Regions from separate parts of the Homo sapiens genome. Here all the other regions are linked to region 1. The links are contacts of gene promoters, found by promoter capture Hi-C in blood cells and fetal thymus (Javierre and others, 2016). All regions are on one chromosome and are shown on one strand. The core of a region is centred on a gene start or on the middle of the fragment in contact, and the rest is flanking DNA. Distances in the headings are between cores, read along the strand shown.

Evidence for each region. The method cuts DNA at HindIII sites, captures the fragments that hold promoters and counts their contacts. A CHiCAGO score of 5 or more calls a contact.
Region 2: a fragment that was not itself captured here is called in contact with the fragment with the promoter of G3BP1 in region 1 in 1 of 17 cell types (neutrophils); the score reaches 6.8 in neutrophils.
Region 3: a fragment that was not itself captured here is called in contact with the fragment with the promoter of G3BP1 in region 1 in 1 of 17 cell types (fetal thymus); the score reaches 5.1 in fetal thymus.
Region 4: a contact is called between a fragment that was not itself captured here and the fragment with the promoter of G3BP1 in region 1, in 1 of 17 cell types (fetal thymus). The highest score is 8.4, in fetal thymus.
Region 5: a fragment that was not itself captured here is called in contact with the fragment with the promoter of G3BP1 in region 1 in 1 of 17 cell types (fetal thymus); the score reaches 10.6 in fetal thymus.
Region 6: a contact is called between a fragment that was not itself captured here and the fragment with the promoter of G3BP1 in region 1, in 1 of 17 cell types (fetal thymus). The highest score is 7.9, in fetal thymus.

What each region holds. Positions count from the first base shown.
Region 1 is chr5:151,769,405-151,774,287 of GRCh38, forward strand. G3BP1 (G3BP stress granule assembly factor 1) reads left to right here and starts at 2,550. Exons shown (of 12, transcript NM_005754.3): 1 at 2,550-2,632. It overlaps LOC100652758 (a long non-coding RNA gene), which reads right to left and starts at 2,772. Exons shown (of 2, transcript NR_132345.1): 1 at 2,299-2,772; 2 at 389-1,368. RefSeq lists enhancers at 637-1,358, 1,737-1,966, 2,224-2,518 and silencers at 2,727-3,056, 3,107-3,176. The HindIII fragment of the contact is 14,997 bases long and covers 1-4,455 here.
Region 2 is chr5:149,961,371-149,966,253 of GRCh38, forward strand. All of the region lies in intron 1 of SLC26A2 (solute carrier family 26 member 2), which reads left to right. Among named protein-coding and RNA genes, the nearest start is that of SLC26A2, 3.1 kb to the left of the region's middle. The HindIII fragment of the contact is 1,313 bases long and covers 1,376-2,688 here.
Region 3 is chr5:150,002,141-150,007,023 of GRCh38, forward strand. It overlaps HMGXB3 (HMG-box containing 3), which reads left to right. Exons shown (of 20, transcript NM_014983.3): 2 at 2,711-2,849; 3 at 4,333-4,507. The coding sequence starts at 2,713. Among named protein-coding and RNA genes, the nearest start is that of HMGXB3, 3.8 kb to the left of the region's middle. The HindIII fragment of the contact is 3,599 bases long and covers 126-3,724 here.
Region 4 is chr5:150,454,043-150,458,925 of GRCh38, forward strand. No RefSeq gene overlaps it. Among named protein-coding and RNA genes, the nearest start is that of RPS14, 6.7 kb to the left of the region's middle. RefSeq lists silencers at 100-300, 4,860-4,883. The HindIII fragment of the contact is 6,015 bases long and covers 1-4,883 here.
Region 5 is chr5:150,695,269-150,700,151 of GRCh38, forward strand. RBM22 (RNA binding motif protein 22) reads right to left here. Exons shown (of 11, transcript NM_018047.3): 3 at 3,974-4,003; 4 at 3,231-3,363; 5 at 1,523-1,623; 6 at 1,265-1,437; 7 at 238-438. Among named protein-coding and RNA genes, the nearest start is that of RBM22, 3.4 kb to the right of the region's middle. The HindIII fragment of the contact is 3,324 bases long and covers 346-3,669 here.
Region 6 is chr5:150,749,257-150,754,139 of GRCh38, forward strand. It overlaps DCTN4 (dynactin subunit 4), which reads right to left. Exons shown (of 13, transcript NM_016221.4): 3 at 4,223-4,401. Among named protein-coding and RNA genes, the nearest start is that of DCTN4, 7.3 kb to the right of the region's middle. The HindIII fragment of the contact is 2,431 bases long and covers 952-3,382 here.

The DNA.
Region 1 (4,883 bases), core at 1,300-3,799:
TCTGAGCTCAAGTGATTTTCCCACCTCAGCCTCCCAAAGTGCCGGGATTACAGGCGTGTGCCACCACATCCGGCTAGTTTTTGAATTTGTTTTGTAGAGACGGGGTTTCGCATGTTGCTCAGGCTGGTCGCGCAAACTCCTGACCTCAGGTGATCCACCCACCTCGTCCTCCCAAAATGCTGGGATTACATGCGTGAGCTACCGCGCCCGGCATGCTGCATAATATTCTATATTACGTGTATATCACTGTTAAAACAGCTTATCAATTGATGAACATTAAGTGTTCGGGTTTTAAATCTTCTAGCAATGCTGACAAAGCTGCAGTGAAAGTCTTGGCACATGCCTTTGTAAACAAATGTGGCTATCAACCAAGTGACATTATTGTTTTGGGGGATATGCACAATTTTATTAGATTTTTAAATTGCTGCTGGGCGCGGTGGCTCACGCCTGTTAATCTCAGCACTTTGCGAGGTCGAGGCAGGTGGATCACCTGAGGTCAGGAGTTCGAGACCAGCCTGGCCAACATGGTGAAACCCCGTCTCTACTAAAAATACAAAAAAATTAGCAGATCCTGGTGGCGCGCGCCTGTAATCCCAGCTACTAGGGAGGCTGAGGCAGGAGAATCGCTTGAACTCAGGAAGGCGGAGGTTGCAGTGAGCCGAGATCACGGCATTCCACTCCAGCCAGGGCGACAGAACGACGCTCCGTCTCAAAAAAAAAAAAAAAATTGCTTGGCAAAAAGATCTGTATCACTTAAAACTCCCTCCAAAAGTGAAGGGTAGCCATGTCCCTCATCGCGAGTCACCTGGGTTAAATTACTAATCTGTAAATGTTAAATTTCGCCAATCTTCTTAGTGTTTCAATTCGGAGAGTCATGTTGTGAAATGCCAATCTCTTAGTCCACCTTTTAAAAAACTTTGCAGGGGTTCTCCAAGGCCCTCAGAATAAAGTCCAGATTCCTTTGCAGAGCTAACAGGATACAGGAGACTCCCTGCTCCAGGAAACTTCTAGGGGCTTCTCTCCTGGGGCCTGTTCCCTGGTTTTGGGAGCGCTCGGGCGACCGCGAGCCAGAGCAGCGTCTCGCTCATCTCGGACCCAGGCCTGGGGCTCCACTGACGCCGACGGAGCCGGGCTGCTGCGGGAGTGGAGCCCTGGGGGACCAGAAGGGGCTTTCACTTCGCTCCTGGGCCTCCCGAGTTCCAGGCTCGGGCTAGCCCCGCGCAGGGAGGCGAGCGGGCCCGGCTCCCCAGAGGCCGAGGCCGGCGCCCGTGCTCCTTCAGCTCGGCCTCTCTCCCCCGACATAGGCGCTCCACATGCTTCATTTCCAAAATTCTCAGCAAAACTCCGCGGGAGACCCTGGTCACATGCCTGGAACGAGAACAAACCGGGGCGTGTCTGTGCCGGACGGCTGGGAACCAAAGCTATTTCCATAGAAATAGGGCCGGCCAGCCTTGAGTTGTAGCCCCGCCAGTGCCTGAAACGCCAGGAGGAGGGGACGAGTTGCCTTTTAAAGGCGTAGCGACGAGAATAAGCCCCCACCCGCGGCAATTCGAGGCTGAACAATAGTGGTGCAGCTCGGGACGTGGTGCGAGGGCCCACACTCCACTGGAGCACGCGCGGACCACCGTGCCTCAGCTGCCACAAAGGGAGCCTCGCCACACGCCCGCGGCCGCCTCGCAGCGCCCGCCAAGAAGCGCCTGGCGGAAGGGCGCACTCTCAGGCCTTCCACCGGCGACCTTCCGGCGGGAGCCTGCGGGCGGCGCAGGAACGACCCTCCTTCCTCTGCCCCGCAGCAGTGCTGAGTAATGGTGAGAGCAGCAAGGCCCTTGGCCGCCGCACGTAAGAAAAAAGTTGTAATAAAAAGAAAACAACCCGGGAAACTTTACTAGTTGGTTCGCCAGGTACAAACCTATGCGGAAAAGGCGGGGTACAGGCCTCGGAGGCCGGACCCAACCAGTCAGGGAAAGAAAGAGGGCAGAAGCCGCAGGCTGCACAGCCTCACAACCGCCCAGAGGGCACGGCGGCCCTGGGGCTCGGTCTCTTCCGAGCAGAGCAACCTCCGTGTCTATCAGCTCCTTCCGGCGTTGCGATTGGCCACAGGCTGTCTTGGCCTCTCGGACGCCCGCCTCCTAGTTGCTAGGGGTTTACTTCCCCAAAGTACACGGGCCCCACCTTGTGGCGCAACCGCTCCTGCATGGAAAACGGATCTCCGCCCAGGGGAAGACGTGTTAACGAATAAGAGCAGCCCCACACATTTATTGGCTACTTTGAGTATCAGTCAAAGAACTGCTCACTCGCCTTTCTATTGTACTTTTCGGTTATTGGTCTCTCTTAGTGCCGATCTGTTACTAGGGAAACGAGATCCTCACAGTCTCATAGGCAGGAGTCAAAGCCAATCAAGAGCCACGCCTTCATCCCCGAGTCAGTGCCCAATTACTGTTCGAAGAGCCCTGAGGACGCGGTCGGGATTGGTCATCCCGTCGCCCGACCTGGCCGCAACAAGTTAGGGTGAGTGGCAGTTATATAGACCGGCGGCGGAGCACGCGTGTGTGCGGACGCAGTTGCGTGAGGGGTTTGTACTATCCTCGGTGCTGTGGTGCAGAGCTAGTTCCTCTCCAGCTCAGCCGCGTAGGTACGCCGGGGTGTGGGCGGGGCAGGGAGGCCAGAGGACTAAGCCGAGCCGCAGCACTTGTGAGAGGGAGAAGTCTGAGTGGCGCTCGCGGCGGCCGCGCCAGTCGCGTCCCCCACCCCAACCCCCACCCCAACGGCCGCAGGCGCGCGCGGCGGACGGACGGGCGCGCGGCGGCTCCTCGCTCCCGCTCCCGTCCCGGCTGGGGCGCGTGGCCGTGTCCGCCGCGTGCGCGTGCTGCGTCCAACGGCCTCGCGGGGCAGGAGTAAGCCGCGGCCGCCGCCTGGGCCCCAGGGCGGTCTCTGGGGCCAGGGGTCCCGCGCCCAGCGTTTCCCGCCCGCCACCCTCTCCGCCACGCGCCCGCGGCACCTTTTCCTCCCCTGGCCAAGGGATCCAGTCGGTTCGGACCAGAAGGAGGCTTTCGTTTAGGGTGGGGGCAGCACTAAAGTCTGATTGGAGTCTTGCGGTCCGCGCGTCGCAGAAGCGCCTTCGGTTTTGCAGAGAGCAAAGAGGGAGCAGCGAGTGCACGGAGTGGTAGTAACAACCAATGTTCTTTCCACGCCCTCACTGTGTGTCCGGCACTGTGCGGAGCCACTTTTCTGCCTTTCATTTGATTCTTGCAGTGAGCTGGCGAGGTGGGTACGGCTATCCTCCTTCCTTAGCGGCCCAAGGCACGGGTTTGGAGAGCGGGGTCACAGGCACGCACGGGAAGGGCGGGGATTTGTTGACGCCGGGCCCTCTGACTCCGAGCTCCCCGCTTCCCAAGCCTGTTTTTAGTCTTTGCCCCCAGAGCACTTGTCCCTCGGGGCAGCATCAGCCTCAAAAGGCCACCTGCCGAGAAGGCTGCAGCGGCATTTGTACTTGGGCTAGTTCTGGGCTTCCAGGGAGACAAGGGTTGGAAGTGGGAATGTGACAAAGGAAAAGGGTTTGGGCTTCCTTTCTACGTGTACTTGTACAGGCCCTGGGTAGATGTGCCGCCACCGTAGCTTCTGGAAAAAAGTAGGGAAAACGATGAGTAAGTGCAAATGAACATGGACTGTGTTCCTCATCGGGTTTGAATCTCAGATTGCTGATGGGAAATTCCCGCCAGCGGGAAGTTAGGCTCCGGTTTTAGACGTTGAATTTTTTTTTCTCTACTTTTTTTTTAATTGGAGGAGACTTTTGCAGAAAGACCTTGAGAAGATTCACTTTATAGTTGAAGGGAATGAGGTGCAAAGCGACGAATTTAAGATCTCACTAGCATCTGTGGGTTAAAATACGGAATTGGAATAGAAAGGTTGGCGCCCAGTTACAGTATACTATTTGGACCTCTGTGGAGCGTGTCATGCTGGATGAATTACTGGTGTTGGAGATGTGTTGGAAAAAACAACTGTGACAGTCGAGATCTGTGGATGAAAGTTTGTGTACACTCCGTTTATTTAGCATTTACTCTGCTGGGTTCTTGTGTATATGCAGAAACAAGATGCTTTTCTTCAGGGACTGGAGCTTATATTTTTCTAGTAGTTACCATCTTTTAGATTATTTAAAAGCCAACATACTCCTTGGCTTAGTGAAATAAATCTTCTATGTTATAGAAACACTTCTATAAACATAAAGATTTCTATAATCGTGTTCTGGAAACCCTTTCTATAAACATGTTTCTATAACAGTATTATAATAATGTTCCAAGTAACATTTACTTGGAACTTTGCTGGTGTGGCGATTCCGGTTACTTGCCCTTACAGACTGGTTAACTATGGAATTAGCATTTTAACTTAGACTTAAAGTTGAGCAATTTAAGTTGTCAAATGGAAAAACACTAGAATGACCTACATTTAAACTGTTTAAGCTTGAGTCCAGCTAATTTTATTACTGCTTGAGGCAAAATAGAATGAAATTACCTTACACATTATTGAGGGAAAATTTCGTTAGTTTCTACTTAAAATATTAAAAAAATACAGTTCTTGGCCTCAGGCAAATGGTTATCACTTGGGCAGGAACATGAAAATTACGTGATTATTTCACAAACTGGTGCTCTAACTGATTACTTGTGCATTTATCAGGAACAAGTGAATTGAAGCAAATTGTGGTAATGTAAGGCTTGGCAAGGCTGCCCTACATCCCTACCAAGTCATACGTCAGTTTTGTTGGAGCTGCTTACCGGTACAAAAGTCTAAGCTTTTGTACCTCTTACAGGTAGAAAAGTAGACAGTTCTTTGTTTAACTCAGTTTGCTGTTCCTGAGCTGACACTGCACCAGGGGAACATTAGGAGAT
Region 2 (4,883 bases), core at 782-3,281, 1.8 Mb before region 1:
GCCGGCACAGGCGAGACGGCTTGGTTATCTTGGTTATTAAAAATCACACACCCGATTAAGTACAAAATCAGGACCTGTTCTTTCGGACTCACACACTAAGTTGGTATTATTTCACTGGATGGATGGAAACACTGAGAAGACAGAGAGGGCCCAGAGCCTTGCCTAAAAATACACAGCAAGTCTTTTGCAGAGCTAGGACTTGTACCCAGCTCTCCAAACTCATAGACTATCAGCCTGGGCTCCTTCCTTGCACAGATTGGGGATCACAGTGAGTTAGAAACATTCAGAACTTAAATTGCCTTCCGGCGCCCATTCTAGTTAACCTGTCTTTTCTCCTTGTCCCCAACAGTTCTTTATGTGAAATCTACAACTAATGTGATATGCAATACTAGATTAAGCAGAACTTTTTGTTTTTGAAAATTGAATCAATAAGAAATGGAGGGCCAAAGCTGTGGGAAAGGAATGGACCCTTTAAAATCAGGAATCTCAAGGCAGGATATAGCAAGGGACAGAGACTAATAGCTGTCGTTTATTGAGTAAATGCTATGTGCCAGGCACTGTGGTAGGTAGTTGTGTTAGCCTTACAAACCAGCAAGTTAGGTAATGTTACCCCATTTTACAGGTCAGAAATTGATGCTGAGTACAGTGAAGTTTTACAAAACCATTGCCATATGACTGCTGAGCAGTATAGCTGGGATCTGAACAGAGATCTGTTTGACTTCCAGAACACATCCAGTGATTCTCCAAGTGTGGTCCTAAGCTCACTCGTTCAGCATCATCTAGCGTGTGGAGTCCTGGATCTCATCCTTGGATTTGCAGGGATGGTCCTAAGAAGCTAACGGCTCTCTGTATTTGACAATTATTGTACTGTAATGTGCTGCCTCCTAGGGGAAGATCTAGAGGTGAACATACTCTGGGCTAGGGGTAATTTTTGAGGGAAAAAAATCACTTTTTTTTAATTTCTGATTTGACTTTTTTTTTTTTTGAGACCAGGTCTTACTCTGTCATCCGGGCTAGGAGTGCAGGGGCGCGATCTAGGCTCACTGCAGCATTGACCTCGTGGGTTCAAGCAAACCTTCCACCTCAGCTTCCTGAGTAGCTGGAACCACAGGTGCACGCTGCCATACCTGGCTAGTTTTTGTAGTTTTTGTAGAGATGGTGTTTCACCATGTTGCCCAGTCAGGTTTCAAACTCCTGAGCTCAAGCAATCCTCCTGCCTTGGCCTTCCAAAGTGCTGGGATTACAGGCATGAGCCACTGTGCCCTGCCCACACTTTTATTTTTTATTTTCCCCCATGATTGACAGAAGGATAATCACGCTTTTAGTGAATGTAAACCCCCAGGCAGATGCTTGCCAAGCTTAATTTCTTGACATAAGCTTGGTTTTGGCATGTGGGGGCGGAAGAGTGGGGTTGGAGAGTTAAGTGAGAATGGGGAAAGTAACTCCTTTTTCCTTATCATATAGCTGTTAAATTCTAATTCACTCAACAGATACTTGCTAAGCATTTATTAGGTGCAAGACATGTTCAAGACACTGAGAATACAGCTTTGAACAAAACAGAGCAAGTCAGTGCCCTCATGTGAAAGACAATTAACAATGTGTGGTATGGAATGGTGAGAAGAGCTATGGAGAAAAATAAAGGGCATAGGAGTGCAAGGCAGGGCTGGGCCCAGGAGGAAGACATGGAAATGGCAGCAATGGCAGTGGTGCTATATTTATTTATTTATTTATTTATTTATTTATTTATTTATTTTTTGAGATGGAGTTTCACTCTTGTTGCCCAGGCTGGAGTGCGGTGGCGCCATCTTGGCTCACTGCAATCTCTGCCTCCTGGGTTCAAGTGATTCTCCTTTGTCAGCCTCCCAAGTAGCTGGGATTACAGGCACATGCCACCACGCCTGGCTAATTTTTTTTTTTTTCTTTTTTTGAGACAGAGTCTCACTTTGTCTCCAGGCCGGAGTGCAGTGGCGTGATCTTGGCTCACTGCAACCTCTGCCTCCCAGGTTCAGGTGATTCTCCTGCCTCAGCCTCCTGAGTAGCTGGGACCACAGGCATGTGCCACCACGTCCGGCTAATCTTTTTATTTTTAGTAGAGACGGGGTTTCACCATGTTGGCCAGGATGGTCTCAATTTCATGACCTCGTGATCCGCCTGCCTCCGCCTCCCAAAGTACTGGGATTACAAGCGTGAGCCACCGCGCCTGGCCTAATTTTTTGTATTTTTTAGTAGAGAGGGGGTTTCACCATGTTGGCCAGGCTGGTCTCGAACTCCTGGCCTCAGGTGATCCACCTGCCTTGGCCCCCCAAAGTGCTAGGATTACAGGCATGAGCCCCTGCACCCGGCCTGCTATTTTGCATATTTGTTTAACTTTTTTTTTTTTTTTTTTTTTTTTGTGGAGACAAGATCTTGCTATGTTACCCAGGCTGGTCTCGAACTCCTGGCCTCAAAGTGATCTTCCTGCCTTGGCCTCTCAAAGCGCTGGGATTACAGACATGAACCACTGTGCCTGGCCTCTGTTTTATATATTGTATCTAGGAAGGGACCGATTTATATAAGGTGTCATTTGAGGTTGGGCAATGAGCAAAGGCCCCAAGGGCAAAGGCTGCTTGATATTTTCATGGACTGGTGATTGGAACACTAGTGCATAGGAGGAAGCAAGACAGTGGCAGTTTTAGGCTCATGCATAGAAGCTTATACCAATGTTTTTAGACCATATTTGGTAGGAGATAGGGAGCCAGTGCAGATTTTTGGGGAGCATATCCAAATGGTTGACCTCATCTTGCTAATGAATGCTTCTTTTGAAGAAGAGGCATAGTGCTTTAAAAATGTAGGTTCAGGCTGGGCTCTTCCTTTGCTCATGCCTATAATCCCAGCAATTTGGGAGGCCGTGGCAGGCAGATCACTTGAGCTCAGGAGTTCAAGACCAGCCTGGACAACACGGCGAAAACCTGTCTCTACAAAAAATACAAAAAAATAGCTGGGCATGGTGGCGTGCACTTGTGATCCCAGCTACTCAGGATCGCTTGAGCCCAGGAGGTGGAGGTTGCAGTGAGCTGAGATCATGCCACTGCACTCCAGCCTGGGTAACAGAGTGAGACCCCATCTCAAAAATAAAAATAAAAAATAGCCAGGCGTGGTGGCTCACGCCTGTAATCCTAGCACTTTAGGAGGCCGAGGCGGGCGGATCACGAGGTCAGGAGCTCGAGACCATCCTGGCTAACACGGTGAAACTCTGTCTCTACTAAAAATACAAAAAATTAGCCAGGTGTGGTGGCGGGCACCTGTAGTCCCAGCTACTTGGGAGGCTTAGGCAGGAGAATGGCATGAACCCAGGAGGAGGAGCTTGCAGTGAGCCAAGATTGTGCCACTGCACTCCAGCCTGGGCAACAGAGTGAGACTCTGTCTCAAAAATAAAAAATTAAAAAAAAAATGTAGGTTCAATATTAGAGGAAACTGAGTGACCATTATACAGGAACTGTGTACTATTTTTACAGCTTTTCTGCAAGTCCACAGTTATTTCAAAATAAAAATTTTTTTTAAATGTAGGTTCAATAAAGTGTTTAAGGCTGAACTATGCCTGCAACTTTCAAATAGTTGAAAAACAATAATGACAAAACCCATATAAGTATGGAGAGAGAGTGTGTTAACATCTTATGAACTGTAAAATTGCTAAATAGGTGAATTGTTAGTATGGAAGTGTTCCATGTATCATTCTTTCAACTTTTCTGAAGATTTAAAAACAGCTTCAAAATAAGCAATCAAGCGACAGTATACGTTTGAATCAGGCAGGCTTGTTCAAGTCATGATTCCCCTACTTACAAGCTGTGTGTGGCTGGGCGCGGTGGCTCACGCCTGTAATCCCAGCACTTTGGGAGGCCGAGGCAGGCGGATCACAAGGTCTGGAGATGAGACCATCCTGGCCAACATGGTGAAACCCTGTCTCTACTAAAAATACAAAAATTAGCCGGGCATGGTGGCAGGCGCCTGTAGTCCCAGCTACTCAGGTGGCTGAGGCAGGAGAATCGCTTGAACCTGGGAGATGGAGGTTGCAGTGAGCCGAGATCACACCACTGCATTTCAGCCTGGGCAACAGAGCAAGACTCTGTCTCAAAAAAAAAAAAAAAAAAAAAAAGCTGTGTGAAGTATTGGAAAATTATTTCTAAACTACATATTCTAGTCTAGTTTATTTTTATTAAAAATATATTTTTAATTATTTTTTTTTCTTACACTGTAGCTCTTACCAGTCTAGTCTGAGATTTTTCCATATAAGAGAGGAGACTTACTTTGGTTGTTGACTTGTTCACATTAATGCTGGGTTAATGTTAAGACTTCAGGTTTTCCACAAACTTGAGATCTTTAGGTTGTTTTTAGGTCGACTCTAGTTTTCCTGTAATTATCTGATGTATATACACTTACAGAGACTGGCATAGGCAATCTATTAGAGGAAAAAGGTTAGGAGTCAGGATACTTGGGTTCTGGATCCATCTCTGCCTTTAAGTAGCAAATGATTTCACTAATCTGAACCTTTATTTATTTATTTTATTTTATTTTTTGAGACAGAGTCTTGTCTGTCACCTAGGCTAGAGTGCAGTGGCGCAATCTCAACTCACTGCAACCTCTGTCTCCTGGGTTCAAGTGATTCTTGTGCCTCAGCCTCCCAAGTAGCAGGGATTATAGGCATGTGCTACCACGCCTGGCTAATTTTTGGATTTTTAGTAGAGATAGAATTTCACCATGTGGGCCAGGCTGGTCTTGGACTCCTGAGCTCAAGTGATCCGCATGCCTCGGCCTTCCGAAGTGCTGAGATTATAGTTGTAAACCACTGGTACCCAGCTGAACTCTTATTTCTTACCAAAAAATCATGGCGGTTGGATTTCTTGATC
Region 3 (4,883 bases), core at 675-3,174, 1.8 Mb before region 1:
CTAGGAAGAACCTAAGGAATAATGTGTGCTTTACCTGGGGTATATCCTGAAAATTATAGGTGAAATACAGTGTGTCTGCAATTTCTAGGAGAGGTTTTTTGTTGTTGTAGTTGTTTGTTTTTTTAAGCTTTCGCAACATTGTCAAAAGAATTCTTGCCTCCAAAAGACTAGGAGCCACTGGGTTCATCCTTTTCTCACAGTAGAAACAGTTGAAATTTAGGATGTGGAATAGACTTCTCTGAGATCATAAGGTTAGAGTTTAGGTCTCTTGACTCCACATGCAGTGCTCATTATACCTTATTTGTGGAGTGAGGTCTAAATGAGAGGTGTGTGGGCTTTGTACTGCACGTATCAGTCCCATATTTACCACCACAACTGCCTCTTCCCAGAATTCTAAATTTCCTCCTGACAGATTTTCAGGGGCAACTATGTTATTTCCTCTTGTAAAATTCAAGTGGTTTCTGTGAGCCTTTCTCCCTCCAAGGATTGAGACTTGTGGTAAAAGTCCAATTTAGAACTTGGCTACAAAAAAAACTAACTCTTCTTGAACTGGTTATTAAGTTTTTTATGCCTCTTTTCCTAGACATAAAAGCTGTTAGTAGATTCTCTGTTTTTTAGCCCAGCACCAGAGAGCTGATGTTGGTTGGTCAGATGACTGTTTAGATCTGTGCTGTCTCTAGCTCCTAGCATATGTTGCTATTTCAGTTAATTACAATTGGCCAGGTGTGGTGGTGGCTCATGCCTGTAATCCCAGCACTTTGGGAGGCCAAGGCAGGAGGATTGCTTGAGCCTAGGAGTTTGAGACCAGCTTGGATAATATAATGAGATCTCATCTCTACAAACAATTTAAAAATTTGCCAGACTTGGTGGTGCACATGTGTAGTCCCAGCTACTTGGGAGGCCAAGGTGGGAAGATCACTTGAGCCTGGGAGGTGGAGACTGCAGTGAGACAGGATCTCATCACTGCACTGCAGCCCAGGGGACAGAGTGAGACCTTGTCTTAAAAATAAATAAATTTAAAAATAAAACTAATTCAATTCTTCAGTCACACTAGCCATATTTCAAGTGCTCGATAGCCATATGTGGCTGGTGGCTACTATATTTGACAGCACAGATGTAGAACATTTCCATCATCAGAGTTTATTGAACAGTGCTGGTTTGGAGGGTTGCCAGTAGAGATGGATAGCAGTGTAGCATAATGAAAGAAGGCCCAGGGAGTTGGATTTTTGAGTTAAAAATCTATCTCTCAAGTCCCTGCTTGGGCTTGGTGGCCTTGGGAAGGTTGTTAAGCATCTCAGACACAGATAATAGTCTTTAACAGAGGCTAGATGTGGTGGCTCACGCTTGTAATTACAGCACTTTGGGAGGCTGAGGTAAGAGGATCGCTTGAGCCCAGGAGTTCAAGACCAGCCTGGACAACATAGCGAGATTTCATCTCTATTATTATTTTTTAAATTATATAAAATTAAAAAAAAAACTTAATGAACTCTTCCATTTTTTTTTCTGCCAATTACCTGACTTTAGGAATGAACCCAGCAGGGCACAGTGTAATCCCACTCATGCCTGTAATACCAACAGTTTGAGAGGCCAAGGTGGGCAGATCGCCCGAGTCCAGGATTTTGAGACCAGCCTGGCCAACATGGCAAAACCCTATCTCTCCAAAAAATTAGCCAGGCGTGATGACATCACCTGTAGTCCCAGCTACTCAGGAGGCTGAGGTGGAAGGATTGCTGAGCCCAGGAGGTCAAGACTGTAGTGAGCCCAGAGTGTGCCACTGTTCTCTAGTGACAGAGTGAGACCCTGTCTCAAAAAACAAAAACAAAAAACCCAAAAACAAACCCTTTTCATTTGCATAGCACTTGACTATTTTCTTTTTTTTTTTTTAATTAAAAAAGATTTTTATTTTTTTAATAGAGATGGGGTCTCACTATGTTGACCAAGCTGGCTGGCCTCAAACTCCTGGCCTCAAGCAACCCTCCCATCTCAGCCTCCCAAAGTGCTGAGATTATAGGCGTGAGTCACTGCGCCCATCCAATTATTTTTAAATAGAGTTGTGTCTATTGTATCCTTTGAGTCTTATCACTATAAATCTGTGGGAAGGTAGTTGAGACATGTCTTTTTTTATACATGAGAGAGAAAGCTGAACAAAAAGCAGCTAAAAGACCTGACCAAAATTGCACAAGCTGGCAGAGTATAAAGAAATCTTTTACATACAGGCCCTTACTACATGTTTGAGTGAATCAATGAAGGGATTTGCTTAAGTTGATGAAACATAGGAGGAATGGGCCAGAACTTCTGATTCCTGGCCAAGCATTTTTTTTTAACCTGTTTCCATATAGAATTGTTATAATTTGGGGCTAATAAATCTTTGTGTTAAAGGGGTGGGTGGGTACTGTATCCCATGAATATAAGTGAAAAGTATTTCTAAGGCAGTGGTCACAAACTTGCCCGGTCTGAGGAATCACCTGAGGCATTTGTTAAGCATGTGGATTTCCATACCCTCGGGAGATTCTGCTCCAGGAGGGCTGAAGTGGAGCTCTGGAATCTTGTGTGTTAAACAACCAAGCCAGGTGCTTCTTAGGATATATTGGGTTTGGGAAATGTCTAAGCCTTAAGGCACTGGCAGAGGTAAGGGGTTATTTGATCAGGAAGCTGCTGCCCCTCTTAGGGGAGATTCTGGAAACTTTATTTTGACTTTCCTTTCCTTTAGCCATGGACGCATCATATGATGGTACTGAGGTAACTGTCGTGATGGAGGAAATTGAGGAAGCCTATTGTTACACCTCTCCTGGGCCACCCAAGAAGAAGAAAAAGTATAAAATACATGGAGAAAAGACAAAGAAACCCAGGTTAGCCAACACATTTTGGTTGCTGCTAGCATTTATAAACAGAAGTTGCTTGGAGAGCTGCATTGAGGAAAACTTTTAAGACTCTTTGAAAAAGAGTGTTATGATTGAAGTCCTGTGTCGAGGGATGAGGAGTGGGAAGTGGAGGGATTTCTGCCAGCATTGCCATTACTGGCCAGACTTTGCTTTTGTTTTCAAGTTGTCACAGGAAATTGTACCATACTGATGGTAGAAGCTAGGTACAAAAGAGCTACATTATTTATTATTATGCCATTGTTGTTATTTAAACATTTAAAACAAAGCATTAATAAAATTACAAAATTAGAAATAAGGCTGGGCGTGATGGCTCATGCCTGTAATCCCAGCAGTTTGGAAGGCTGAGACGGGTGGATCACCTGAGGTCAGGAGTTCGAGACCAGCCTGACCAACGTGGAGAAACCCCGTCTCTACTAAAAATACAAAATTAGCCGGGCGTGGTGGCGCACACCTGTAATCCCAGCTGCTTGGGAGGCTGAGGCAAGAGAATCACTTGAATCTGGGAGGCGGAGGTTGCGGTGAGCCAAGATTGTGCCATTGCACTACAGCTTGGCCAACAAGAACGAAACTCCTCTCAAAAAAAAAAAAAAAAGAAAAGAAAAAGAAAAAAAACACACAAAAAGAAATAATACCAATTATATCTGTACAGAATATCCAAATTGTAGCTCTAACTTCACTCTTGACTGTGAATACCTCAAACTTGTGAAACTACCAGCATTGGTCATTTTGATTGGTCTGCTTGCTTCCCTCTCTCATCCTTGGGGAGGTGCCATTGACCAGGTTGGTGACCAAAGGCTGCGTAGAGGAGCACGGAGTGTGAGTGATAACCAGCCCCTTGAGGAAGCTTTCCCTGAGAGTGGAATGACAGGACAGGACACCTGTATCTATCTTTGCTTTAAAATCATTCCTGCACAAAAAGCGATCTTTAGGAAAGCCAGTCAAATGAGCCTTTGCTTCCAGGTTTCTGAAGGGGAAACAGCCACTTGCTATCTTTACCATTCATTTTCCCCTCCTCCCTTGGAGCCCCTTATCTTCCTGGGTAGTTACTCCTGACTGTAATATAGTGGCTCTAATGTAGTAACTTTAATATGGTAGCTTATATAAGCATTTCTCCTATACCATGAGTTTTTATATTACAAATTGAATGTAATATAATTTGTGTTGTACTGACAGCTATCAGTTATAATCAGGAATAAGATTATAACTTATTATAACACCATCTGAGGATGTTATTTAAATGTTTGTTTGCTTGACTTTCAGTCCCTATTTAGATAAATGCTTAGAAATGAGAAGCTAGGTTTTATCAACCTCTTGACTACCCATATCTTAGCATAGTAGTACTTACTGGTTGAATGAAGTCCTGGGTCGAGGGATGGGGAGTGGGAAGTGGAGGGATTTCTGCCAGCATTGCCATTACTGGGAAAGCCTGAAGAAGTCATTGCTTCCTCAGGTCTGCTTACCTTCTGTACTATTACGACATCTACCTGAAAGTGCAGCAGGAGCTCCCCCACCTCCCTCAGTCTGAGATCAATAAGAAGATTAGTGAGAGTTGGAGGCTTCTCAGCGTGGCCGAGAGGAGTTACTACTTGGAGAAAGCCAAACTAGAGAAGGAAGGTTTGGATCCTGTAAGTAATTTTTTTTTCCAGCTATTTTTTCCACTGGTTCAGTGATGAAGGCCTTGGGAAAACCAAGCCCCTTGTTCTGTTTCCTTTTCTTTTTTTGGGAAAAGTTTCATCGTTTTATCCTTCTTGACTCTGGGCTTGCTTGTTTCCATTTTGATAATGCCCTGCACTCTCTTGTCCTCTTCGGTTGCAGCAATACGTGGAGCTGACATTTTTTTGTGTTTTCTGCAGTGAGCCTTAGGTTCCTTTTCTAAATTTTAGTGTAACTTGGAGCCCCTCATAGTTACTATAAATAGTAGCTTTAATGTAGTAAACTTTAATATAGTAGTTTATATAGGCATTTCTCCTACGCCATGAGTTTTCATATTACAGATTGAAT
Region 4 (4,883 bases), core at 988-3,487, 1.3 Mb before region 1:
ACAAGGTTAAGAAAAAGGTGCTGTGCTTTGATGTGCACATACATAAACATCTCGGTGCATTAAAGAGCAGTATTGCCGCCAGCATGTCTCACCTCCAGCCCTAAGGCGGTTTTCTCCTATCTCAGTAGATGAAATATACAATTGCGTTTTACAACGAGACATTCCATTGCCCAGGGACGAGCAGGAAACAGATGCCTTCCTCTTACCTCAACTGCAAAGAGGCCTTCCTCTTTTACTAATCCTCCTCAGCACAGACCCTTTACGGGTATCAGGCTGGGGGACGGTCAGGTCTTTCCCTTCCCACAAGGCCATATTTCAGACTATCACATGGGGAGAACTTGGACAATATCTGGCTTTCCTAGGCAGAGGTCCCTGCAGCCTTCCGCAGTGTTTTGTGTCCCTGGGTACTTGAGATTAGGGATTGATGATGACTTTCAAGAAGCATGCTGCCTTCAAGCATTTGTTTAACAAAGCACATCCTGCATAGCCCTAAATCCATTAAACCTTGAGTCGACACAGCACATGTTTCTGCGAGCACAGGGTTGGGGGTAGGGTTACAGATTAATAGCATCTCAAGGCAGAAAAATTTTTCTTAGTACAGAACAAAATGGAGTCTCTTATGTCTACTTCTTTCTACACAGACACAGTAATGGTCTGATCTCTCTTTTCCCCACAAGGTGGGAGAGGGAGCCAGCCTTGCAGGTATCTAAGGGAAGATGGTTATGGGCAGAGGGAGCAGTATGTGCAAAGCCTAGAGGCGGGAGTATGACTGGCATGTTCTAGCAACAGCAAGGAGGCCAGGGTGGCTGGTATGGGGTGAGCCAGGGCAGGCAGGTGAGGAGATGTGACGAGAGGTCACTGGGGGTGGAGAGAGATTGTGTAGACCATGTAGGCCTTAGAGTTCATTGGCTTTTACTGAGTGGAGCCACTGGAAGGTTTTAAGCAGAGGGTGACAGAACTGACTTCTGTTTTAATAGGTGCACTCTGGGTGCTCTGTGGGGTGGGGTGAGGGGCAAAAGTAGAAGCAGGGATGACGGTTAGGAGGCTTTTGCAATAAAGCAAGTGAAAGACATTGGTAGCTAAGACGGAGGAGGCATCAGTAGAGGTAGAAAGAAGTCGCTAATATTTGGTTTTATTTTGAAAATGGGGTCCGATAGCTTCTCGGCCTTTTGGCTAAGATCAAGTGAAAATGGTGGCCGAGTGCAGTGGCTCACGCCTATAATCCCAGCACTTTGGGAGGCCAAGGTGGGTGGATCAATTGAGGTCAGGAGTTCGAGATCAGCCTAGCTAACATGGCAAAACCCCATCTCTACAAAAAATACAAAAATTATCTGGGCATGGTAGCGCGCACCCATACTCCCAGCTACTCGGGAGGCTGAGGCATGAGAATCGCTGGAACCCAGGAGGCAGAGATTGAAATCGTACCACTGCACTCCAGCCTGGGTGACAGAGTGAGACTCTGTCTCAAAAAAAAAAAAAAAAAAAAAGAAAAAGAAAAGAAAATGAGAAAATGGATCCAACAGGATTTACTGATAGATTAAACTAGACATGGGGCATGGGAAAAGAGTGTTGTCAAAGATGATTCTAGCATTTATGGCTGGAGGAACCAGAAGGATGGAGTTGCCCTCAGCTGGGGTAGGGAAGGCAGAGGGTGGAGGAGGTTTTTAGGGGAAGATCAGATGCCCACTCGTAGGCCTGAGTTTGAGCTGTTTATTACATACCCGAGTGGAGCTGTCAGAATGACAGCTGAGATAGATGAATCTGGAATTGAGAAGTGGATCAGGGCTGGAGGTGTAAATTTGGGAGTCTCCAGCATACAGATGGTATTTAAAATCACAAGACTGATTTTAATCACGAGTCCCGCCAAGGGGCTGAGTGTAGATAAAGAAGAGGCTAAGGACTGAGCGTTGAGAGCATGGGGATAAGAGAAGGAGAGAGCCAAGAAAATAAGCCATGAACAGAAATGAAAGGAGACCAGGAGAGGGCACATCCAGAAGGCAACTGGAGAAATGCAATCAAGCAGAAGGGAGTGTGCACCTGTGCCATCGCGCTTAGAGGTCAAGGATAACAAGGGCTAAGGATGACCGTTGGATGTAGCAACATGAAATACTGGGGACTTTGACAACAGCAGCTTGATTGGGGGGCTGGGTGGGGGGAGTGCAAAAGTGTGAATGGAGTAAGAGAGGGAGGTCCACACCTCTTGGACAGCTCTTTCCAATATTTATTTATTTATTTATTTATTTATTTATTTATTTTAAGATAGAGTCCCTCTCTGTTACCAGGCTGGAGTGCAGTGGTGTGATCTCAGCTCACTGCAATCTCCACCTCCTGGGTTCAAGTAATTCCCGTGCCTCAGCCTCCTGAGTAGCTGGGATTACAGGCACACGCCACCACACCCAGCTAATTTTTGTATTTTTAGTAGAGAAGGGGTTTCACCATGTTGGCCAGGATGGTCTCAATTTCTTGACCTCATGATCTGCCCACCTTGGCCTCCCAAAGTGCTGGGATTACAGGTGTGAGCCAGCATGCCTGGCCCAATTATTATTATTTTTTTAATTTTTAAAATTTTGTTATTTTTGAGACAGAGTCTCACTCTGTTGCCCAGGCTTGAGTGCAACCTCTGCCTCCCAGGTTCAAGCGATTTTCATGCCTCAGCCTCCGTATAGCTGGGATTAGAGGTTTGCACCACACACCTGGCTAATTTTTGTATTTTTAGTAGAGATGAGGTTTCACCATGTTGGCCAGGCTGGTCTCGAATTCCTGACCTCAAGTGATTCGCCCGCCTCGGCCTCCCAAAGTGCTAGGATTACAGGCATGAGCCACCGTGCCTGGCCCTCATTTTTCTTTAAATACTGAGTCTCCCTAAGTTGCCCAGGTTGGTCTTGACCTCCTGGGCTCAAGTGGTCCTCCCACCTCGGCCTTCCAAAATGCTGGGATTACAGGTGTGAGCCACCATGCCCAGTTCCTTCATAGACAGCTCTTGAGTTTTTCTGCAGAGGTGTGCCAGGGGGCAGATGGAGAATGGGAATGTGAGATCAAGAGGTTCTTTTTTTTCCTTTTTTAAGGTTGCATCAATAACAGATATTTTAACACTGCTGGGAATAGTCTAGAAGTGAAGGAAAAACATGCTGGAGCCCTGACATTGAGCAGGCAATAGGTAAAGGCCTCTGCTGCGCATGTGGAGGCATCGGCTTTAGGCAGGAATGTGGACAGCTCACCTCAGGTGCTAATGAGGAAGGAAGACGGTGGGGGCAAATGTGGCAGCAGGAGCTGGAGAAAGTTCTCATTCCGGAAGTGGAAAGCAAGCAGCTTCCTCTCAACAACCACAGGAGGTAGAAAATGTTTAATCCCCCCCGTTATAACTGAGGACACAAGGAAAAGGTCAACAGCTCTAAGTGGGGCACCAGGATCTGGGCCCAAGCAGTCTGACTCCAGAGCCCAATTCGTGTAACCTCAGGTACAGGTGTTTTGTAAATATCTGTTGATTGGATGAAGGAAGAGCAAGGAATTAGCCTGCAGCAGCAGAAGCCAAGCCCTTTCCTGGGTCCTCAAGCTCAACCTGGAAGGCCCCGTGCTCCCCATTCTCGGCAGCAGCTCATACTGTCATTTGTCCAGGAGCTCTATCCCCTCCTCCCCTTGAAGGGTAGTTTGCAAATGCAACAGAGGAAGGGTGGGAAGAAGCTGTGGCTCAGAGAGGGTGAGTTTGCTCACCAGGACACACAGCCAGGAATCAGACACCAACTGTGGCCCAGGTGGTCCTGGGACTTGGAGGGAGGACCTTCTCAAAAGTGTTGGCTGCTGTGAAGCTGTCGTGGAGTCATGGGTCTATTGCTGGTCTGAGCCCCAGAACACACATGAGCGCTAGTCTGCGTGTGTAAGTGTGGCACACAAGGGAGAGCGGCGGTGTGTGTGTTGGGGATTAGGCCAGGTGCACACCCTCCAGGGTCCAGGGGAGGAGGGGCTACAAAAGGCCTGGAGATGGCTCCCTCTGTAGCAATGCCCCTCTAGAGACCGGCAGGCTTCGTCCTCCAGGGCTGTAATTCACCTGCTCCCCGTGCTCACAGGACTCACACGCGGTCTGCGAGCAACTGATGGGAGCCCCTGTGTGCCCCAGGACCTGTCATCTCAGCACTCGCCACACAGTGACCGTGTCACGGCCTGCTGCCAAGGGGCTTTGTCTAGCAGGGAATATGGGCAAGAAACAAGGACAAAGTAAGGAACGGGGGATACGGAGGGCTCTGGCTTGCTCAGGGGCCTTGCTGGAGGGCCCAAAATGGGAGTAGGAGACAGCCAGGACAGGAAGAAGAGGGTGGGAGAAAACTCCCAGCTCAGGCCGGGCGCGGTGGCTCACGCCTGTAATCCCAGCACTTTGGGAGGCCAAGGCGGGTGGATCACGAGGTCAGGAGATCGAGACCATCCTGGCTAACATGGTGAAACCCCGTCTCTACTAAAAAAATAAAAAAATTAGCCAGGCGTGGTGGCGGACGCCTGTAGTCCCAGCTACTCAGGAGGCTGAGGCAGGAGAACGGCGTCAACCCGGGAGGCGGAGCTTGCAGTGAGCCGAGATCGTGCCACTGCACTCCAGCCTGGGCGACAGAGCAAGACTCTGTCTCAAAAAAAAAAAAAAAAAAAAAAAAAAGAAAAGAAAAAGAAAACTCCCAGCTCACGAAACAGCACGTGGAAAGGTCTTGAATCAAAGGGGACCTGGGATCATTCAGGGATTCGGGAGAAGTCTCTGTGCTGAGGGGAGGGGGTGGGTGGGAGGTAAGATCAAAGGTTGGGGCCTGGGCCTTGGGGGCGGTGGGTGAGAGGTCTCCCTCGCTCTGACCCAACGGAGGCAGATCCTCGGTTTGATCCTGGGCCCAACTCTGCTCAGTGAGGAA
Region 5 (4,883 bases), core at 758-3,257, 1.1 Mb before region 1:
TCCTCCCAAAGTGTTGAGATTACAGGCATGAGGCACTGTGCCCAGCCACATAAGCACATTATTACTGTGGCACCATAAAGGACAATTTTACAAAAATTCCAGTCAGCATGATACTAACAATAGAGAGACTACAGAAAAATGTATTTTGTACAGAATGATCATTCTTGCAGTTTTTGCAAATAAATTATTCCAGGGCAGTTAAAGGCAAAAATAACTCTCTAACTTATACCCACAAACCTTAAATCTGTCTCAGTAATGGTATCACCTAGACCACCAACATATAGTGTGGTGATAGTTTTATCCTCTGGTGGGTCCAGCCGAGGCATTGTTGAAGCCCGCTTTAGAAGCTTGTCAGCTACAGGATCATTGATTCCGTAATAACGGTCTTTAATATTCTGATCAGCAAGGGGGTCATCTGGATCTGTAGGCTTCTCATGTCTATGATTCAAGAAAAAAACAAGGCATAAAGGTGAAACGAAGGTGAAAAAATGATTATCTTCCAAGAGTAGCTACATATTAAAGTCCTAGATACATATTCTGAAGTGCCTTTTGAACTAGAAACTATGGTTTCTACCAAAATATAATTACCAAAATAGACCTAATACCAAGAGATTTACTGTATCACGGAAGGAATTACTAGCCTCCTAAAAGCCATTAGGCCATCTAGGATGCCAAACTTTCCTTATAAATAAATACTCTTGACATGATCCACCCCCTCCCGCCCCCCAGAAAGGGACACATGATTACCCCTCTCTAGGTCAATGATTCTTAACACATTTGGGGTGCTGTATTCCACTGAGAATCTGATTAAAGCTATGAACCTCGCCCCAGAGAAAGCACATACATTATTTTTTAGGGGGTGGGGTTAACCAATCCCAAATTAAGAACTCCTAATCCAGATGCTTGGCAGTCTTAACCAAAACATACACACCCTTTAGAAGTCTGACCTTACTTTGACTTCAACTATACATTGAGAGTCAACTCATTTAAACCATGGCAGTGAAGATTTACTTCTCAGGCAGAAATGTTTAGGGTCAGCATCTATATTGTATGGCATAGCAATTTAGTTTCCAAGGCTCAATTGTAAGTAAAAACTACAATTTATTCATGCTCTTCTAAATTTCATAGTTCTAAGACATGAGGTATACCACATTAGTTGTATGACCTTTAGATTTTAAAGCAGAAACAGTTTAAGTTAGGACCTCCCACTTCTTAGATGAGAAATCATCTGAAAGCAAATACTGAAAATGAGGCTCGCTCTTGCCTGTATGGACATTCCTCTCCTCTCTTACACTCTCCTTTCACCCAGAAGGAGCAAATGTGGGGTCGATTCCTTTTGTAGTAGGGTGTGGTCCGGGCCAGTTTGAGCAGCATGTCACTGGTAGATGTGGCTTTCCCCAGCATGCCAACTGGCCGTGTTCCATCAGAGTTAGAAATCTAAGTGGGGATGACAAATTCAAAAGATAAATTATACAGACTGTGTCAATTCATTAGGATTTTTATCCAAAAAGTGGCAGCATACCTCTCTCTCCATATTCTGTGTATAGTACTCTTTGTTGACATCTGACTTTGGCATGTCATCTTTAAAAGACAATCCTGCGTCACGAACCTGGATGGGCAGGCCTGGTACAAAAAAAGAGGAAAAAGACCTCAGATGTATTTTAAAACATATCCATACTAACCATGCACACAGAATACATCATCTTTCCCTTCTCCTCTTTCCTATTTAGTACCAGAGACTTTACTATGTTTTTATTCAAACTCTTTAGCACCATCAGGTTACTTCTGCTACACAGCATGCTAAGAAATTGTCCAAATTCCTGAACTGTCAGGAAATTTGATGAAATTAATGCTTTAGAAAAAATCTTTTAGGCTGGGTGTGGTGGCTCATGCCTGTAATCCTAGCACTTTGCAAGGCTGGAGCTGACAGATAGCTTGAGTCCAGGAGTTCGAGACCAGCCTGGTCAACGTGGTGAAACCCCATTTCTACAAAAAATACAAAAATTAGCTGGGTGTGGTGGTATGCACCTGTAGTCCTAGCTACCCAGGAGGCTGAGGTGGATCACCTGAGCTTGGAAAGGTTAAGGCTGCAGTGAGCCATGACCATGCCACTGCACTCCAGCCTGGGCAACAGAGTGACACCCTGTCTCAAAAACAAAAAACAAAAAAATTATAAAAGAAAATTTTTAGATGAACAAACTGTGCCCATGGTCATATTCAACCTGTAAATTAGCTCCTAGTTTTTATTACAACATGATTTATTTAAAGTAAATGTAAAAGTGGTTTCTTTCTAGGTTAGTCTTACAGATCCTCTGGATAGTCACAGTCATCTAAGGGTCACTGTACTCCAGGACCAGACGCCTCCTTAACAAACATATAAATAATATTACATAAAATGTGGCCAGGACTCTGACTAGAAGAGTAACTCTAATGAACTTAACATACATAAACTCATATATTTTTCCCTTTCCTTTAATAGTAAAAACTCTTGTTGAAAAATTATCTTTCTGAAAAACAGTCACCTATGGTTAAAAAAAAAATTACTCCCAAAAGCAGTTACTCTGAAACAGTAGCAATATATCAGTTCTAACAACACAATTGAAATAAAAGTCTAAAGCACAATTAGGCTGGCTATAGTGGCTCTGGGAGGCCAAGGTGGGAGGACTGCTTGAGGCCAGAAGCTCAAAACCAGCCTGGGCAAAATAGTGACACACACACACACGTGCACTGGGTGTGGTGGTATACCAGGAGGCAGAGGCAAGAGGATCCCTTGAGCCCAGGAGTTCGAAGTTGCAGTGAGCTGTGATCACACCACTGTACTCTAGCCTGGGTGTCAGAGTGAGACCCTAACTCAAAAAATAAAATAAAATAAAGCACAATTACCCTGTGAGCTTCTGATTGGGATGGTGGAAAAAAGCTCTGGATCAAGAAAGAAGCCTAAGGCAAATAAATTATCTATCATAGGATCAACGCCTTTTACCTCACTTGGGCTACAGAGATGAAGGTTTAGGCCACTTTTGATTAATTCCCAACTTTTCCTTAAGTTCCTACTATTGTTCAGGACTCTAGAGTGGCCTAATTATGGTTCTTTTCCTGGGAAAAGCAGACCACGGCAGACATTCCAAAGTGAAATCAGAACCAGAGCTAGGGTGCGAAGTGGGAGACAAAAGACTGACTTGTAGTTTTAGGCACCTGCACACTTTCAGATTTATTGGACAGGTCAAACATACCATACTCTAGGTCTAAGAGGCAGGTCTGACAGACATTCTTCAATTTACTGCAGGTTTGGCACACTTCAGTCTTCTTGAAACGCATGCGGACTCCAGGGCACCAGCGAAACACTGTGAATGGCCTGGCACAGATCTGGAACACAAAGCAAGAGCCATAGAATGTCAATGGTCCTGATCTGGGCAATCTGGAGATCTGATAACAACGGGGCATTCAAAAAAGGATCCCTGAATGTAGGATTTAGAAGAGACCTTAGCAATCATCTAGTTGATTTGATGTTTCAATACAATTTTCAGCATCCTTCTCCAGCAAAAATTCAGAGTACAGAAATGAAATAGCCAAAGGGTCAAAGTTCTTCCCATCCTAGAGCTAAGCACCAATAATAATCTGAACCTTAATCTTTTTTAGGGGGAGTGGGGAGTGTCATGTAATTTTTTGAGAAGCTTCTGACAAGAATGACCTTCCTCCTCAGCTAAAATGCTCGAGTGGACAGTCATACACCACCTGGTGTACAAACTCCTCCAGTGCCCATCCACTGACACCGTAAGAATCTCTACATTAGAGGGTTCATTTTCTTACCTCCCACATAAACAGTTGCCAGCCAATGAATATATCAGTAATACATAAAAAGTTGTATAGCACTGATTTTTACTGGAAGACCTCAAAACTTAGTAAGCTGAAGGCTAATTTGGTAGAGAAAAGAAAAATGAAACAGAAATCATTACTCTTTAACAGACATACTTACTTTGCATTCCTTCCCATACTTTTCTTTGGTCTATAATAGAAAAAAAATAGAAAAGAACTGGAGTTACAGAAAGAAAAAAGCCAGATGTCTACTCTTTCCTTAAACATAACCCAAGAAATGTGTCTGGAAATCCCTGGCATCCTAGAGAGAGAAAAACAGCAACAACAAAACCCAAAACCCAACCTTTTTTGGGAAGAGGGTAGGGAACATACTATAACAACATATTATAAGTGATAACATCTCAAGAGTATATGGATCTGGGCTGGGTGGCAGTGGCTCACGCCTGTAATCCCAACACTTTGAGAGGCCAAGGTGGAAGGATTGCTTGAGCCCAGGAGTTCCAGACTAGCCTGGGCAACATAGCGAGATGCTGTCTCTACAGAAAAAAGAAATAGAGTATATGCATCTAATGCTAGGTAAGTGAGTGTCTTTCCACAGCCACAACTCTTAGGTTCATTTTTGGCTCCCAAGTTCACTCCCAAGAACTAACATTCCTAATGCTTTCCACAATCCCTAAATCAGAGAGGATACAGCTGTGGCCCGCCCACTTTACAAAGTTTAGTCAAAAGGTAGCTACTGTAGACTTGTCCTGTGCCAATGCCCGGAATATAGTAAATGTTCTGTTTAAACAGAACTATTCAAACATCTTGAACCATTCAAACATCGTGAACATACTAACATATCAACACCTCTACGACTACACAATAATACAGCCCTAACCTTATTATTGTTAACTGGTTCTAATTTTACCCTAGTTTGTAACAAAGGGGGAATGCTTACTTTAAAGAGATAAAGTACACTGGCCAAAAGGCATTTGACCAGGATTCAGGAAACCTAGTTTCTAGTTCTGGTTCTCCTCCTATCATGCTGACATTCCTAGAGCCAGAATATGTGAACTTAAATCCCAGCT
Region 6 (4,883 bases), core at 917-3,416, 1.0 Mb before region 1:
AAAAAACCAAATCAAAACAAACCAACAACAACAAAACCCAGTTAAAAAGTAGGGAAAAGATTTGTACAGACAGTTCACCAAAGATATATGGCTGGTAAACAAACACAATGAGAAAATGCAAATTAAAACCACAGTGAAGTACTGCTGTACATGTGCTAGAATGGCTAAAATGGGTAAGACTGACAATATGGCAAGGGTTGTCAAGGGATTGGAACTCTCCTAATTTGCTGGGGAGGATCCAAAATTGTTCAGTCACTTTGGAAAACAGTTGGGCATTGGCCAGGTGCAGTGGTTCATGCTTTTAATCCCAGCACTTTGGGAGGCTGAGGCAGGAGAACTGCTAGAGTCCAGGAGTTGGAGACCAGCCTGGGTAACATGGAGAAACCCCATCTCTACTTTAAAAAATAAAAAAAAATAAAAATAGTTTGGCAGCTTCTAGACAAATTAAACATACACTTATCCTATGACCTAATAATTTCACTCTTTGGCACTTAAGAAAAATGAAAACATATATTCACACAAAGAGTTATAGGCAAATGTTCATAGCACCTTTATTCACATAAGCCAAAACCCAAAAACAATCCAAATGTTCAAGTGGAGAATGAATAAACAAACATGTTCATACAACAGAATACTACTCAACAATAAGAAGAAATAATATAAAGAAGAAACACAGATGAACCTCAATAGCATTATGCTAAATAAAAGAAGACAGACAGGAAAGACTGTAATGTAAGACTCCAATTACATACACTTCTAGAAAAGGCAAAATTCTAGTGATAGAAAGCATATCAGTCTAGTCAGGGGCCGGGAGGTTGGGGGAAGAAACTGACTGCAATGGGGCATGAGGATTCTCTAGGGGGACAGAAATGTTGTGTATCATGATTATGGTGGTGGCTATGTGATTACACACTTGTCAAACATCACAGAATTCTACACTTAAAATTGGTAAGCTTTATTATATATAAATTATATATTGGTAAAGCTAGCCAAATAAAGGGAAAAATAAAAGTATAATGAGATACCATTTCACAACCATCAGTCTGGAAAAATTTTAGAGTCCAAAAGTACTAAGAGCTGACAAGGAACTGGAGCTACAGGTAGTTTACTCTTACATATTACTACTAGGAGCAAAGACTGCTAAATCATTTTGGAGTGCTAAGGATGTACACAACTTATGACTGGCAATTTTACTTCTAGTTATATAGAAAAGTCCTTACACTTGTGCCTTAGGAAACACATACAAGATTGCTTCCAGCAGCTATATTTTTTCAAAAGCAAAGAAAATGAAAACAACCTAAATGTTCATTAAGAGAAGACGGAATAAGTAAACTGTGGTGAGTCATACAGGAATCAACTGTGTATCAGAAACATAATGCTGATAGAGTAAAGTTGTAGCAGGATATATACAGTATGTTTTCATTTGCTTAAAAGTGAAAAATGTTATTTGTTTGTGGCTGCATACATATGTGGAGAAGTATAAAGACATGTATGGATGCTAATAAACACTGAATTCAGGATTGTGATTATTATCTCTAGCGGGCAGAGAGGAAGATAAAGTAGGGGGAGGGCTTAAACTGTTTTGGCTGTTTCATTTCTTAAACTGGGTGATAAGTACATGAATATACATATTTCATATAAAATCACTTTTTTCAAAACAAAAAGGACGCAATTACCTTGCTGAAGGTGACATTGTATCCTCTTGCAAGAAATGGCAGAAATAACACTTTAGTATAATATTATTTTAGAAGTTGCCTCACTTAAGGCAATCATGAAAAATAATTATGTGAAAGAAATGTTTCAGCTGTAATATTTTTAAACGTCTGAATATTTTATCTAATTGCTTCTTTTGAACTGGTAATTTATTCTAAGTAGCAATTTGGGAGACATAATAATCTCATTGTAAGTTTTTCTCCGTACATTACAGACAAGTACTTATAAATAAACAAATAGTTCTAACTTAAGTGGTTTCAGGGCTTCTGAGATACCAATGACATCAAGGAGGAAATGAAATTATCTGTACGCTTTAAGAGCTCCTGGTATTCAATTATCCCTGTTGAGATACCCTAGAGGAGATACAGTTCTAGAAGCCAGCATAAGTTTATAGTTCTGAAATATAAATTCTCCAATCTTCATGACTCATAAACCAAAAAGCATAAAACACTCACTAACAGAGTAACAAACTGAGAAATCTACTTGGATTTCCGGGCTGTTTCTTTTACTTGATAAAAAGACACAAAATACAAACATGAAAAAACAATACTTTAGTTCACTGAGGCCTACATTATGCCACTTTGAGGTTGCTTTTTAACATTTAACTTACTTTCTTTAACTTATCTCCTATACTGACACTAAAACATATACACATAAATACTTACTGGCAATTTTCAAAGATGTTACAGAATCTTTCTATTTTCAGTCACACTTCAGGTAAATAGCTACCCACCAATGAGCATTTTTAAGGAACTAAGATATACTTATTTAACTTTCTGTTTTTGAAAAGAGTATGTATTTTATCAACTCAATGTACAAAGTCAGAAAAACCATCAACAGCTCAAAGCATTCTAAACCAAAGAGCAAATTCAATAGAATCAAGGATTAAATTTTTAAGAACATAGTTGAATCTAAAGAACTTCACCCATATTTACTTCCAAATTGTGTAAGAATCTATAGAAAGGTTTTAGCCAGTCTGCTTCATTTTAGTTATGTCAAATGACATATAATGAATTTGTTATGAGCTTCCTCATTTATTAGTCAATAAGCTGTACTTTTTATGAAAATCCCAAAATGAGAATTTTTACAAGTTTAAAATGTTTTTAGAAAATTAAACAATGAAACCTCAGAAAAAAAAATACGGAGTTAGTGATGCTACTACTTATATAAAGCATAAATAGCAACTCAAGATTTTATTAATTTTTTTTAAACTTTGGATCACTTAAATCAAAAGCAACTCAAGATTTTGAACTGACTGTACAGAGAATGTTTCCACTCTATGATGTTAACCATGAAATACAGAATTTGCAAAAATAAAGTTTCGTGATAAAATTAAGTGTAATCTGTTCTAAAACACTCAAACACTCAAATGATGGAGGTATATAATGCCTTAGGTGGTCTTAAATCCAAACATACCAATTTTTCTCTTTCACTGATAAACATTTTATATATATACGTAAAAGTTTTTGAGCACATGTTTGAATGCTCCAGGACAGACATTTGGACATTGAATTACTGGGCAGAAGGATATAAGCAATTTAAAATTTTAATAAATGTTTTAAAATTGGTCTCCAAGATAGACTACCATAGTGTATGAGAGAACTATTCTCCTATGTTCTAGCCAACACTTGATACAACCAGATTAAACATGTTGTACCAAATAGAAGGAAGCTTTAATTTGCATTTACATGACTACTAGGGAAGTCGAATACATCTTTTTGCATATTCATTGACCATTTTTATTTCTACTATGAGAATTGCTGCTCATATCCTTTGCCTGTTTTTCTACTAAGTCTTTTTCTTATTGACTTATAAGCGTTCCTCATTTCTGAGTATTCATCTTTAGCCTGTTATATAAGACCCAACTATTTTTCTTAGTTTGTCATTTTTATCTTTAAAGATTTTTTTTTTTTTTGAGACAGAGTCTTGCTCTGTCACCCAGGCTGGAGTGCAGAGGCCCGATCTCGGCTCACCGCAAGCTCTGCCTCCCAGGTTCACGCCATTCTCCTGCCTCAGCCTCCCGAGTAGCTGGGACTACAGGTGCCCCCACCACGCCCAGCTAATTTTTGTATTTTTTAGTAGAGACGGGGTTTCACTGTGTTAGCCAGGATGGTCTCGATCTCCTGACCTTGTGATCTGCCCGCCTCAACCTCCCAAAGTGCTGGGATTACAGGCGTGAGCCACCGTGCCCGGCCTTATCTTTTAGTTTTATCCATGATGTCTTAACATGAATGTTTATTTTTCATGAAGAGCATTAATATTTTGATTCCAAGAAAGTACCAGATTTATAAAAGCTATTTTATCAAGTCTAAGAAAACTAAATATTATCCCATCTCAGATAAAACACTAAGGTCTACAAATGTGAACATATGGGAACACAGAAGAGTTAATGACAAAATATTCTGAATTTAGCTCCTATCGCCCCAACGGGTTACAGAAATAATAATCTATGGGCAATTATAGCACTGTCAATTGTACAAAATTTCATATTGAAGTCCATCTCACTCACCTACAGATTTGTCTGCCATGCCCACATCTCTAGACGTCCAGCGACAAAATCCACATGCCAGGTAATAGGCTTTCTTCATGGTGGTCTTGGCTGGGTCATCTGGAAGCTGTGTGGAGATGCTCGTGGCCCGAGTAGAGAGGGTGTGCATGCAGCCAGGACAGTCAAAACAATTGGCACATCTGTGACATGACAAACACAACCATTCATTCAACAAATATTTATCAAGGAATTCAAGAGAGAACAAATATAAGGACAAGTGTCTCTCAAGAAAAAACAGTAACATTCTGCAGGCCTCTTACCAACTTTGCTTTAACAGTTCAAGAGTACTATATGTTCATTAGTTTAAAAAATATGCAGTTATCGCCAAAGTAAGAATTAGAGCCCAACCCAATCCTACTCCACAGAGAGAACCATTGTTAACAGATGGAGTTTATGATTCCAGACTCTTTTTATGCTTATATTGATCACAAAGATTTCTGAGGAAGAGAACTGTCACAGCTTATGCCTTTAGAGAGGACAGACCAACTGTGCCATAGAAAACTTAGAGTCAACAATACAAGAAGCTGTGAAACTGGATTTGGAAAATAACCGACTGCTGTGCCAGAGAGCTTCAACAGAAAGCAAACAATGCTATCAAACTGGAATGGTTCAGAAGCAGCAT